Linked DNA regions of Homo sapiens: all the other regions are linked to region 1. Evidence: promoter capture Hi-C in 16 types of primary human blood cells and fetal thymus (Javierre and others, 2016). All regions are on one chromosome and are shown on one strand. The core of a region is centred on a gene start or on the middle of the fragment in contact, and the rest is flanking DNA. Distances in the headings are between cores, read along the strand shown. Region 1 holds the start of RSPO3 (R-spondin 3). Region 2 has its middle 150 kb from the start of TRMT11. Region 3 has its middle 170 kb from the start of TRMT11. Region 4 overlaps CENPW (centromere protein W). Region 5 has its middle 31 kb from the start of CENPW.

Region 1 (2,533 bases), core at 26-2,525:
GCCTCCACTTGGGCTGGGAAGATAAGAAAGTAGTGGACCTTCCCCTTCCTTCCCCAAGACTGGGAAAATCTTTCCAAATCTTATTCCCAGTCTTCCAGATGCGAGATTAGAATGTACAACAGATCCTCTCAAGAACACTGGGAGACCGAGGGTGGGAGAGAAAACTCCAAGGGGGGCGAGCTGACTATAGAGGGAATTGCCTGAGCGGGAAAGGAATCTTCCAAAGCCACAGAAAAGCCTTGGTTTGGAAGAAAGCCGTAGCACAGCTGCATTTCCAACGGGAAGGTCCTGAGCGCACACACTTCTGGGTCCTCCCCGCTCGGAGCAGGTAAACCTCAGAGTAGCTGACCGGCAGCACCCACAGAGTTTCCTCCCCACCACCCGCCTGGCGACCAACTGCAGCCGAAAAGAAAGAAAGAAAGGAAAGAAAGAAAGAAAGAAGAAGGAAGGAAGGAAGGAAGGAAGGAAGGAAGGAAGGAAGGAAAGAAAGAAAGAAAGACAAAGAAAGAGGAAGGAAGAAAGAAAGAAAAGAAAGAAAGAGAAAGAAAGAAAGAAAGAAAGAAAGAAAGAAAGAAAGAAAGAAAGAAAGAAAGAAAGAAAGAAAGAAAGAAAGAGAGAGAAAAAGAAAAAGGGAGAAAGGCAACAGAGGAGAAGGTCAGGAAAGCCGGGAACAAGTCAGCAGCCAGAAACTCTCCAGCGATCTGCCAAGGGGGAGAGGGTAGTTGCGCGCCGGCGCTGGGGATGGGGTGGGGGCGCTGGGGCACAAGGGCGCAGGGGCGCACGGCCACCGACAGCCGGGTGCGCCTAGCTTGAGGCCGCGGAGAGGAGCCGAACTGGGATGGGTGGGGGGTCTTCGGCCTCAACACTGCCTGCCAGCCCCAGTGCGCCCAAGTCTCCCCGCCAGAGCTGCCCTTCTGGAGGGGCTCTTCGCACGCACTGCTTTCCCCATTCTTCTGGCTGGAATTCTCCGGCCGTCACTGCAGTGTCCAGAGATGCTGCGCTGTAGACCCGGGACCCCTTAGGCGCCTCTTCCCGTCCCTCTGCCAAAGCGCAACGCCTGTACTTTTCCAGCTCCCTCTTTCCCTCTTGAAATTGAAAGTTATTGAGGTCGCTCAGGGTTGTTGCTCCAGCAGTTTCCTTCCCCGCCCCCGAGCTCCCCCCCGCCCCCCACAGCCATCCCCCCTCCTCTCCCCCTCCCTGCCCTCCTCTCCCTCCCCCCTCCCTGCCCTCCTCCTCCTCCTCCCCTATGTGGTGCTCCCGGGAGCCCAGCCCAACACTGGAGCGTCTCCTGCTCGCGCACGCCAGAAGCAGCTCGGGGTCTCTCCGCCGCCCCTTGGCCATGGCCGCTGTGCCGACGGCGCCCGCTCCCCTGCGCTCCAGGGGCCCCCGCCGCTGCAGCCGCAGCCGCCGCAGCTTCTGAGCCCAAGGGGCCGCCGCTGCAGCCGCCGCCGCCGCCGCTCGCCCGCCCGGATCCCGCCTGCGGCAGTTGCCGCACAACATGCTACCTGCGGCCGCCCCGGCGGCTCCTGGAACCCCGGTTCGCGGCGATGCCAGCCACCCCAGCGAAGCCGCCGCAGTTCAGTGCTTGGATAATTTGAAAGTACAATAGTTGGTTTCCCTGTCCACCCGCCCCACTTCGCTTGCCATCACAGCACGCCTATCGGATGTGAGAGGAGAAGTCCCGCTGCTCGGGCACTGTCTATATACGCCTAACACCTACATATATTTTAAAAACATTAAATATAATTAACAATCAAAAGAAAGAGGAGAAAGGAAGGGAAGCATTACTGGGTTACTATGCACTTGCGACTGATTTCTTGGCTTTTTATCATTTTGAACTTTATGGAATACATCGGCAGCCAAAACGCCTCCCGGGGAAGGCGCCAGCGAAGAAGTAAGTGCAGGGTTTTTTACGCGTTTGCTCCCTCCCGCCGCGTTCACCTGTCGGGTCGCTTTGCCTGTCCGGAGCCGGCTCCCAACTGCAGCGGTCCTCCCGCCCTGCGCCTCGCAGAGGAGATGCAGGTTCGGGCTTTGGGGGTATGGACGGCGTCTTTCACCCTTGCCTCTCGGCGCCCCTGCCTTCCGCAGCATCCTAGCCGGTGCGAGGGGCGGGCGGACGCGGCGCTAAGGTGGCTCCCGCCCCATGGTAACTTCAGGTTCGCGGGAAAGTTCGGTCCTGGGTTAGACTCGCACCCGGGATTTGTGCTTTCCTTTTGAGGATCGGACAGGGGCACCCAGCCGAAGGCACTTGGGACTCCCAGACGCAGGATGCCTCTGACCGCTGAGTAAATGACAAGGGAGGCGCGGCCGCGGTACCCGCTCACCTAGCGCAACCGCCTCGCGCGGGGAGACCTCGGCTGGGCCCTTAGGCTGGACTCCGGTAGCCGAACGCCCGCTACCCGGCCAGGAAGCCAGGGAGCGAGCGCCTGCGCGGCCGCATCCCCGACACGCACCAGCGGAGCCAAAGGGCGCGCGAGGCGATGGGGTTCGCGTGTCTGCGCGTTTGCAGAGCTGCCGGACGTCCCCCGCCCGA
Region 2 (2,533 bases), core at 10-2,509, 980 kb before region 1:
TATCCAGACTATAAAATAAAAATATTATAGGTATGGCTACAATCTCCTTTGATCATTACCATGAATCTTGATCCTTTTTTGAGAAGTAGCAACAGCATTTAATTTGATGTATATCTTTTCAGAAGATTTTATTTTTATTTATGTAACAAATATATATAAATATTTTTTCAAGACTGAGTCTTGCTCTATTGCCCAGGTGGGAGTGCAGTGGTGTGATCTTGGCTCACTGCAATCTCTGCCTCCTGGGTTCAAGCAATTCTCCTGCCTCAGCCTCCCAAGTAGCTGGGATTACAGGCGCCTGCTACCACACCTGGCTAATTTTTGTATTTTTAGTAGAGATGGGGTTTCACCATGTTGGCCAATCTGGTCTTGAACTCTTGACCTCAAATGATCCACCCACCTCACTCTCCCAAAGTGCTGGGATTACAGGTGTGAGCCATCATGCCCAGCCTATGTAACAAATATTTATGGCCACATACTATCTATATAGTTTTTTTTGATGTGTGTGTTTTAAAATGTAAATAGTATTTTAATGTATGTGGTTATTTTGTAACTTCTATTTGGCTACCTTGCTAAACTTTCTAATGTGAACTCTAACAATTCACAAGTTAATTTCTTAGAGGTTTTTTTGGTAATTATTATATCATTTGCAAATAATGATAATTTTGTCTGTTTTTATTCTGATTCTTATATCTGATTTGTTATTGTCTTGGATAGACAAGGATGGTGCAGAAGTGCTGGATAGATAATGATAGTATTTTGCATTATTCCTTACTTTAAGAAATTACTTCTAATATTTTATCCATTAAGTATGGTACTTATTACATATTTCCACTAGTGACATTTATTAAAAGGGTTTTCTTCTATTTCTAATTTCAGAAGATTAAAAATGAGGTATTAAATTTTAGTCAATACCTTTACATTACTTATTTTTTGTCTTTTGTCTTTTAATATGGAGAATTGGTAGGTTCTCTAGTATTGAACCATCCTTGTATTCCTGGGATAAGCCCTATTTGGTCCTGATGTGTAATTAAAAAAAAATCCCTGTATCTGATTTGCTAATATGTAATTCAAGGTGTATATATCTTCATTTATAAAAGTTATTTGTCCATGATTTCCTTTCTTGTGCTTTCTCTTGTTTTGGTATTAGTGCTATATTTGCTTGGTAAAATGGATCAGATAATTTCTTATCTTTGTCTTTACTTTGAAAAGTTTATATAACACAAGAATTATGTGTTTTTTAAGGATGTGATAAAATTCACAAGCAAAATCTTGAGTTGGGTGCCATTTCAAGTATAGTCTTTTCTGTTAGCTTAATGTATTCAGTGGTTACTGATGTGCGTGTTTTAAAAATTCTTTGAGCTGATTTTGATGATTTTTCTAGAAATTTGACCATTTTAGCTAAGTGTTCATATAGGTATGCTAAAATTTCCACCTTAAAATGGAAGATTCATTATTGCTTTCTCACTTGCCAGGGGCAGAGAAATTGTTCTACTTGACAAGTTAATTTTAGCTTTCCACCAACAAAACAACCTACAGAGTATTTGTACTATATGCTGCTTTAGTTTTTGTGGTCTCTCAGTGAAGTTAGTTATTTTGCAATCAAATAATTATGGGAAATTTTGCTTTTAAAAAAATCAAGTGACAATGTATTTTCATAATGACACCTTCGATTCCAGAATTCAGGAATCATAGAATTAAAAAATGCTTCGAATTTTCTTAAACTCCATGTTTCCTCACCAGTGAAATAGAAAATAACAAATAGCTATCTCATGAGGGTAGTTATATTAAAGTACATAATGACTCTACTGGTCTTCATACAACATTTGTGTGTGTTAAGTTATAGGGATAAGTTTGTATTAATATATGCCCTTTGCTTTAGAGAAAACGTACTTAGCAAACTGTGAATTTGAATAAGAGAGTTTTCCTCTATGTGTAAGTAATTATAATTGAATCTGGGGCTTGGACTATTTCTAATCATCTTAATTAATTAGCAGGATAAAGCATAAATGGACTATTTTGTCTAATTTTGGTTATCAAACAAGTAGACCTGTCAGCTTAACTAAAAATAAAATGAACAAATAATTAAGTGATTGCATGTAGCTAGTTACAGCTTTAATCAATGTAATCAGTCAAATAAGTTAAATAGTCAAAAGTATTTGTGTTTTCACACACATGTTAAATCAGTGAGAATGATTTTGTTGTCTTACTGTAATTGTAGGAAAGTAGCAAATTTGAATATATCATTCAAGCATGAATATATAGGTTGTACTGCTGTTGCAAAAATTAAAATTGACAGAAAGATAAATTTATCTACTCCAAGTCCACCAAGCCTGGCAGGCCAGTGAAGGTGATGTGAGAAGAATGGTCAGGAGATGAGGTCAAGAACCTGAACTATATATTCTGTTAAGTTTGGGACACAGTTAACCAACTTAAATCCGTTATTTTGGAAAAGGAGATTATATATGGTGTATATTCAGTATCAGCTGAACAACTTCTCTTTAGCAACATTTGCTCAGTTCTGGCCTTTATC
Region 3 (2,533 bases), core at 21-2,520, 960 kb before region 1:
CTCAGATGCCCCCAAACCTACATCACTGCTTCTCCTGTCCATAGACTGCTCTCTGTCCCTGAGGTTTGACCTCTGGGTAGGGAGGCAGGAAGTGGGCTGCCCACCTCTGATACCTCGTCCACACTTCCTCTTCTTCTTTCTGCCAGCATAGAAATGGCTTTTCATTTCAGTTCTTATCTTCTAGAATTGACAATAGATTATTGTCTTTCTTTTCTACTCTGGGAAGCATGTAATTATTGATCTGAGTCCTTCAAGTTTGGCTTTTATATACAAATACTTAGCTTTGGAGAATTTCAATAGAACCCTTTTCCTCCTCAAGAAAGCCTGGCTCCTGCTAAACCAAAAGCCTTTGCATTCAGGGAATAGCCTTGCTATGGATGTAAAATTTCATATTATAAAGCTGTAAACTGATTGATGACTGCTGCTCTTGGCTGTGTGTTGCTCTTTTCCTGAGTCAATGAACCCCGCTGGATTAAGAGGGTGCAGGGAAGATAAGGAGAACTATAGGAAAGTTACAATTTGAAGTTTACCTGTGATGAAATGACATTGGCTTAATATCACAAAAAGATTAATCATCCAGTACATCAGCATCATCTGTAAGCCACCAATTGACTGTTGGGATTTTTTAGATGGGTCTGATGAAAAGGAATTAAATTTACATTTGGATTTCTATTAATGACTGTATAGTTTGTTCAAAAGAGAGTTACTCTAGTTTTCTTTACCTTGCTGTTATTCAGCTATTTTTTCTCTCTTTTATAATTTAGTCTTTACATTTTTAAATTGTAAAATAAAATGCAGATACAGAATGCTCTCCCATGAATTTGTGTACATGTTAATGAATTGCTTAGTAAATTTTAAGGCAAAAGCCTTTGTAACCAACACTAGATCAAATAGAACTTTGTCAGCCACTCATAAGCCCCTCTATATCCTCTATTCCAATCATAATCCCCTCCCTTCTGCCATATGTAATAATTATGCTATATAACAGAATAATAGTAATAAGCTTATTACTATTATTTTTGATAATCACTTCCTTGTATGTGTGTGTATGTTTAGTTTGAACATTTATATAAGTCCACTCCTACACATTGTAATTTAGTCTTTTCCATTATTTAAAATTTGATCAGTCTTTTGAAACCTTCAGTCTATGGTTCTTCTCTCTACCTCAATCTTTTCCCTGTGCTTTTTCTGTCGAACACCTGGACTGTTTGACCTGTAAAGTTTCCCATGGTCTGGACTTTGCTGAATGCATGCTCATGGTATAGTTTGGTATGTTCCTTTGTCCTTTTGTATTTTCTGCAAATTAGCAGCTGGATCCAGACACTGGATCAGATTCAAGTTCAATATCTTTGGCAATACTAGAAGGAGTGTTTGGGAAGACTATAGGAGGAAGCTCATGTCTATTTCTTTTTATGAGGCCAACAATTGTTGATGTTTAGTGTCTAAATCTATTATATAATAGGTTCTTTAGTGCTACTTTCATGCTCTGGATCCTTATGGTATATGAAAGATTCAAAAAATGTCAGGCAAATAGGAGACAAGCTTCCCCAAATTGTACTGTATTTATTTTTTACATTCTAAATGCCTTTTACTTATTGCATTTGGTATAAACCAGGTTGCAAAGGCCACTTCAAGCTTGGGGCAATGTCGAGCCAAATTTTAGGGAAAAAAGCAATTTCTGTGGCTCTATCTCCCACCTGCTTTTGTGGAACTTCTCCCTCCTACAAAGGCCTCTCTCTCTCACCAGTTACTGTGGGAAGTTCTAGATGGTGTCTTTTGGATGCTCTTGAAATGGTATTCTCAGCTACCACGTGGCATCTTTCTGTCACTTCCCTCGTTGCCCATCCAGCTCTGACTTCCTTTGGTGATGTCTTCTTTAAAGCCTCTGGGCTCTGTGAAACATTACTTAGGTGGCCCCTTGCAGTTGCTACTGCTACTGTGCAGATGTGGGTGACATTTCCCACTGATGCCAAAGGGCAGAGTGTGCTAATTTTTCTTCTAAATGTCTGTTTTCTCCTCCTCTTGGGACACCTGTAATACACTTCTCAACCTCTCTTGCAATGTGATGTGACCGTGTAACTAATTTCTAGACAATGCTAGATATTTGCAAGTGATATGTGCCACTTTGTGGATAGCTGGTTTGTCCCCTCCAAACTTTCTTTCCCCTTTGTGCTGGCTAGATCCAAATGGTGATGGCACTCTGGGCGGAGGTCTGCAAATACCTTAGGCTTTAGTGTCATATGGTCTCTGTCATGACTATGGTACTCAGTTCAGCTGTTATTGTGCAAAACTAGCCATAGACAATGCGTAAACAAATATGTATGGTTTTGTTCCCATAAAACTTTATTTACAAAAAGAATCTCTGAGCTATATTTTGCTGGTACCTTCCCTAGAGGATAGCAGAGCCACAAGACAGAAAGAACTTGGCCACTGATCACTACATAGAGGAAAGCTGCTTGTCAACCAGGAACAGCCATCTTCCACTATTATAATACGGACAAATAAGTTTCTATTGTATTTCATTCATGTTTTA
Region 4 (2,533 bases), core at 26-2,525, 770 kb before region 1:
TGTGCCAAGATCGCACCATTGCACTCTAGCCTGGGCAACAAGTGCGAAACTCCGTCTCAAAAAAAGGAAAAAAAAATCTCTTATAAGTAGAGATGATTGCTTTTTACTGTTATTTTTATATAATGTTAAGAATATGTTGCCTACGGTGCAGTTTTCCAGATATGTTCCTGAAAATGTTATTTCCAAATGATGTTAATCAAGGCCCTACCTCAGATGCTTCTGTTGTCAAATAAGTGTAGATAACCTTGCATACTATACTTCCTTGATTAGTCACAGTATTATTGTAGAACTTGTTTCTGTAAGAATATGTAAGAAACTGGCAACCACAGTTGACTGGGGATGATAGAGGAGGGAAACTTATTTTTGACAGTCTACCTCTTTGTAGACGTTTTTGTTTTAGATTTATTTTGAAATAAGGTACAAAAGATAGTTTAGAGTTCCCATGTACCCTGTATCCAGTTTCTCATAATCCTAATGTCTTAAATAACTATAGTCATGTAAAGTTATGAAAGGCTATGAGAGAAATATAGCAATAAGGAAACTTGTTGAACTCCATTTAGTATTTTGTAAGTTTGAGTACATAATATACTCAGCGTTTTGTAAATTCATTTGAGTATTCAAACTTTCTTTTGAAGTACCCATGATAATTATCTTGTAGGACAGAGAAGTACTAGTCTAGATACAGATTTATTTGATGGTCTTGTGGAAGCCTAGAAATGTGCATGTCTTGGCATTTTCTAGGGCCTTTAAATTATCTTGCAATTATAAACATTCCAACAAATTTCTACACTATTAAAGTCAATGTAAATATTTTTCTGTGGGAAAAACAAGGCTTAAGATATTGAAGAATATACACGTGTTTTTTACATTTAGGATTTTTATTAATAAACTGTAGGTTTATTTACTTAAAATAGTAGATAAGTTTTTTTTTAAAAAAAGAGATATTCTGACTAATACCGTCAGTCTTTTTACAACTAAAAATCTCCTTTTTTTATTTGTGCCACAGACTATTATTTTGAAAATAATCTACTTAACAGGTTGTTCAGCATAAGATGACTAGTTTTAGTCTCAAATGATTATAATTCCAGTCCAACTATAAGAAATTTAATGTTGCAGTGGATTTGTCCTAGTTTATAGTTGTGAAATGTCTGATTTATAATAGACTTTTTGAGTCTAATATAGACTCAAGAATATTGTTTAACTCTTTAATTGGTATTGTTTAACTCCTAATTTAGATAACTAAATTGTCTAAAAATTTCAAATTCGAAACCATTAATCTGGACACTTTTGGTTTACAATAGAAGAAATTAACATCTAGAGGTAACTAATAAAGGCAGGTTTTTAGAATCTAGGCATGTTTCATATTCATTGAGATAAGACTGTTTTTAGAGAAATCTAAGACTATAAGACAAAAGATTCCCTAATCACCTGGAAGGTGATTTCCAATTTGGAAAATTGGGTTTTATAAATTCAGTCTTGCATATTATGCACCCAGGACTATTTAACTTTTTGTTAAGGAATGATGTTTTATTTTTCATAGATATAATATGAATCTTATTTTTTTCCCTCTTACAGGTAATTCTAAAGAAGAGCAGAGGTTAGAAGTCAAAGAACATATTCTTGAAAGTTATGATGCATTCTTTTGGGTGGTAACAGATCATAAAGACATTTTTTACACATCAGTTAATATGGGATTATTAAATATTGGCTATAAGTGATGTGTGTGTTTGTATTTTTTTTCTGGCATGAAATATCTCAAGTAAATGCATAGGACTATTTAACCCTTTTATGGGAATTACTATTATTTTTATTTTAAATGTCCTCTAGTTCAGTTTGCTTTTGTTTTGTTGCTGCTGCAAATATTTTATGTATCAAAAATGAAATCTTACTATATTAAATACTTTGAAAATGTACTTCTTAGAATTAAGTTTATATATATTTAGATTTAGCCACAGTTAACTATGGAATTTAATCTCTGAAGAAAGGCAAATGCAGTCAAATCTAGGTGCACTTTCAATATTTTAACTTTTAATGTCTTTGCAAAGCAATGCAATCTACTTTTATATTATGCCAGTAGTAATGTTATAATTTCTCAGCTGGACAATTATAAACATCAGGTAGGTTTTTCAAAACCTATCTCCCTCCCAAAACCAAAATAATAGAAATTTGGAGCAAATGACTTATTTTCTTCAAGTCTCATGGATTTAATAGATAATTTTTCCCCCTAAATAAGATAATTTAGAAGTTTATTATGTATCATCAAATAGTTGTTACTTTTAACTTTTTATTTAGAAATAATTATAGATTTCAACATGTAGTTGCAAAGATAGTACAGAGAAGTCCCATGTACAGTACACCCAGTTCCCCCAATGGTTACATCTTACATAACTATAGTATAATATCAAAACCAGGAATTTCATATAGGTACAGTGTACATGTAGTTCTGTTGCCATTTTATGGTGTAGATTTGTTTAACCATTACTGTAATTAGAAATGTTTCATTACCAAAAAAGTCTCTTTGTGCTATCCTTTT
Region 5 (2,533 bases), core at 18-2,517, 750 kb before region 1:
TTTTTTAAAGTTGTTGATTATGGCCATTCTTACAGGAGTAAGGTGGAATCACATTGTGGTTTTGATTTGCATTTCCCTGATCATTAGTGATGTTGAGCATTGTTTCATATGTTTGTTGGCCATTTGTATATCTTTTGAGAACTATCTATTCATGTCCTTAGCCCACTTTTTGTTGGGATTGTTTGGTTTTTTTCTTGCTGATGTTTTTGAGTTCTTTGTAGATTCTGGATATTAGTTCTTTGTCAGAGTTATAGATTGCAAAGATTTTCTCCCACTTTGTGTGTTGTCTGTTTACTCTGCTCATTGTTTCTTTTGCTGTGCAGAAGTTTTTTAGTTAAAGTCCTATCTATTTATCTTTGTTGCATTTGCATTTGCTTTTGGGTTCTTTGTCATGAAGTATTTGCCTAAGCCAATGTCAAGAAGGGTTTTTCCAATGTTATCTTCTAGAATTTTTATGGTTTCTGGTCTTTGATTTAAATCTGTGATCCATCTTGAGTTGATTTTTGTATAACGTGAGAGATGAGGATCCAGTTTCATTCTACCTGTGGCTTGCCAATTATTCCAGCATCATTTGTTGAATAGGGTGTCCTTTCCCCACTTTATGTTTTTGTTTGCTGTGTCAAAGATCAGTTGGTTGTAAGTATTTGGCTTTATTTCTGGGTTCTCTATTCTGTTCCATTGGTCTATGTGCCTATTTATACCAGTACCATGATATGTTGGCAACAATGGCCTTATAGTATAGTTTGAAGTTAGGTAATGTGATGCCTTCAGATTTGTTCTTTTTGCTTAGTTTTGCTTTGGCTGCGTGGGATTTTTTTGGTTTCATATGAATTTTAGTATTTTTTTTTCTAGTTCTGTGAAGAATGATGGTGCTATTTTGATGAGAATTGTATTGAATTTGTAGATTCAATGAATTTGTCATTTTCACAGTGTTGATTCTACCCATCCATGAGCATGGAATGTGTTTCCATGTGTGTCATTTGTGATTTCTTTCATCAGCATTTTGTAGTTTTCCTTGTAGAGGTCTTTCACCTTCTTGGTTAGGTATATTCCTAAGTATTTTATTTTTTACTTTTGCAGCTTTTGTAAAAGGGGTTGAGTTTTTTATTTTATTCTCAGCTTTGTCATGTTGGTGTGTAGCAGAGCTACTGATTTGTGTACATTAATTGTGTATCCTGAAACTTCTCTGATTTCATTGAGCAGTTCTAGGAGCTTTTTGGGAGAGTCTTTAGAGTTTTCTAGGTATACGATCATATCATCAGCAAACGACAGTTTCACTTGCTCTTAACTGATTTGGATGCAGTTTATTTCTTTTTTTTTTTTTCTTGAGATGGAGTCTTGCTCTGTCACCCAGGCTGGAGTGCAGTGGCGTGATCTCGGCTCACTACAACCTCCGCCTCCCAGGTTCAAGTGATTCTCCTGCCTCAGCCTCTTGAGTAACTGGGATTACAGGTGCCCACCACCACGCCTGGCTAATTTTTTGTGTGTGTGTGTGTGTTTTTTTAGTAGAGCTGGGGTTTCACCATGTTGGCCAGGCTGGTCTCGAACTCCTGACCTCAGGTAATCCACCCGCCCTGCCTCCCAAAGTGCTGGGATTATAGGCGTGAGCCACCGTGCCTGGCAGGATGCAGTTTATTTCTTCCTCTTGTCTGATTGCTCTAGCTAGGACTTCCAGTACTATATTGAAAAGAAGTGGCAAGAATGGGTGTCCTTGTCTTGTTCCACTTCTCAGGGGACATGCTTCAACTTTTTCCTGTTCAGTATTATGCTGGCTGTGGGTTTGTCATAGATAGCTTTTATGATCTTAAGGTAGGTCCCTTCTATGGTGATTTTACTGAGGGTTTTAATCATAAAGGGATGCTGGATTTTGTCAAATTTTTTTTCTGCGTCTATTGATATAATAATATGGTTTTTGTTTTTAATTCTGTTTATGTGTTGCATCACATTTATTGAATTGCATATGCTAAACTGTCCCTGCATCCCTGATATGAAACCCAGTTGATCATGGTGGATTACCTTTTTAATATGCTGTTGGATTCGATTAGCTAATATTTTGTTAAGGATTTTTATATCTGTATTCATCAAGGATATTAGTCTATAGTTTTCTTTGTTATGTCCTTTCCTGGTTTTGATATTAGGGTGATACTGGCTTCATAGAATGATTTAGGGAGGATTCCCTCTTTATCTTGTAGCATAATGTCAATAGAATTGGTACCAATTCTTCTTTGAATGTCTGATAGAATTCAGCTGTGAATCCATCTGGTCCTGGGCTTTTTTTGTTGGTATTTTTAAAATTTGTATTTTAATCTCACTACCTGTTATTGGTCCGTTCAGCGTTTCTATTTCTTCCTGGTTTAATCTACAAGCGTTGTATATTTCCAAGAATTTCTTATCTCCTCTAGGTTTTCTAGTTATGTGCGTAAAGATGTTCATAGTAGCCTTGAACAATCTTTTTCTTTTTTCTTTTTCCTGTGGTATCGGTTGTAATAAATCTTATTTCATTTCTAATTGAGCTTATTTGGATTGTCTCTCT

What was found. The method cuts DNA at HindIII sites, captures the fragments that hold promoters and counts their contacts. A CHiCAGO score of 5 or more calls a contact.
Region 2: a fragment that was not itself captured here is called in contact with the fragment with the promoter of RSPO3 in region 1 in 1 of 17 cell types (M2 macrophages); the score reaches 5.6 in M2 macrophages.
Region 3: a fragment that was not itself captured here is called in contact with the fragment with the promoter of RSPO3 in region 1 in 1 of 17 cell types (M2 macrophages); the score reaches 6.8 in M2 macrophages.
Region 4: a contact is called between a fragment that was not itself captured here and the fragment with the promoter of RSPO3 in region 1, in 4 of 17 cell types (M0 macrophages, M2 macrophages, M1 macrophages and 1 more). The highest score is 8.1, in M0 macrophages.
Region 5: a contact is called between a fragment that was not itself captured here and the fragment with the promoter of RSPO3 in region 1, in 3 of 17 cell types (endothelial precursors, monocytes and M2 macrophages). The highest score is 8.0, in endothelial precursors.

Annotation. Positions count from the first base shown.
Region 1 is chr6:127,117,396-127,119,928 of GRCh38, forward strand. RSPO3 (R-spondin 3) reads left to right here and starts at 1,276. Exons shown (of 5, transcript NM_032784.5): 1 at 1,276-1,894. The coding sequence starts at 1,798. LOC105377989 (a long non-coding RNA gene) reads right to left here. Exons shown (of 14, transcript XR_002956387.2): 4 at 1,506-2,533. The HindIII fragment of the contact is 5,242 bases long and covers 1-2,533 here.
Region 2 is chr6:126,139,218-126,141,750 of GRCh38, forward strand. It overlaps a transcript of TRMT11 not described here. Among named protein-coding and RNA genes, the nearest start is that of TRMT11, 150 kb to the left of the region's middle. The HindIII fragment of the contact is 6,644 bases long and covers 1-2,533 here.
Region 3 is chr6:126,157,080-126,159,612 of GRCh38, forward strand. It overlaps a transcript of TRMT11 not described here. Among named protein-coding and RNA genes, the nearest start is that of TRMT11, 170 kb to the left of the region's middle. The HindIII fragment of the contact is 539 bases long and covers 1,002-1,540 here.
Region 4 is chr6:126,346,891-126,349,423 of GRCh38, forward strand. CENPW (centromere protein W) reads left to right here. Exons shown (of 3, transcript NM_001012507.4): 3 at 1,576-1,985. The coding sequence ends at 1,602. Among named protein-coding and RNA genes, the nearest start is that of CENPW, 8.0 kb to the left of the region's middle. The HindIII fragment of the contact is 7,567 bases long and covers 1-2,533 here.
Region 5 is chr6:126,369,444-126,371,976 of GRCh38, forward strand. It overlaps a transcript of CENPW not described here. Among named protein-coding and RNA genes, the nearest start is that of CENPW, 31 kb to the left of the region's middle. The HindIII fragment of the contact is 4,920 bases long and covers 1-2,533 here.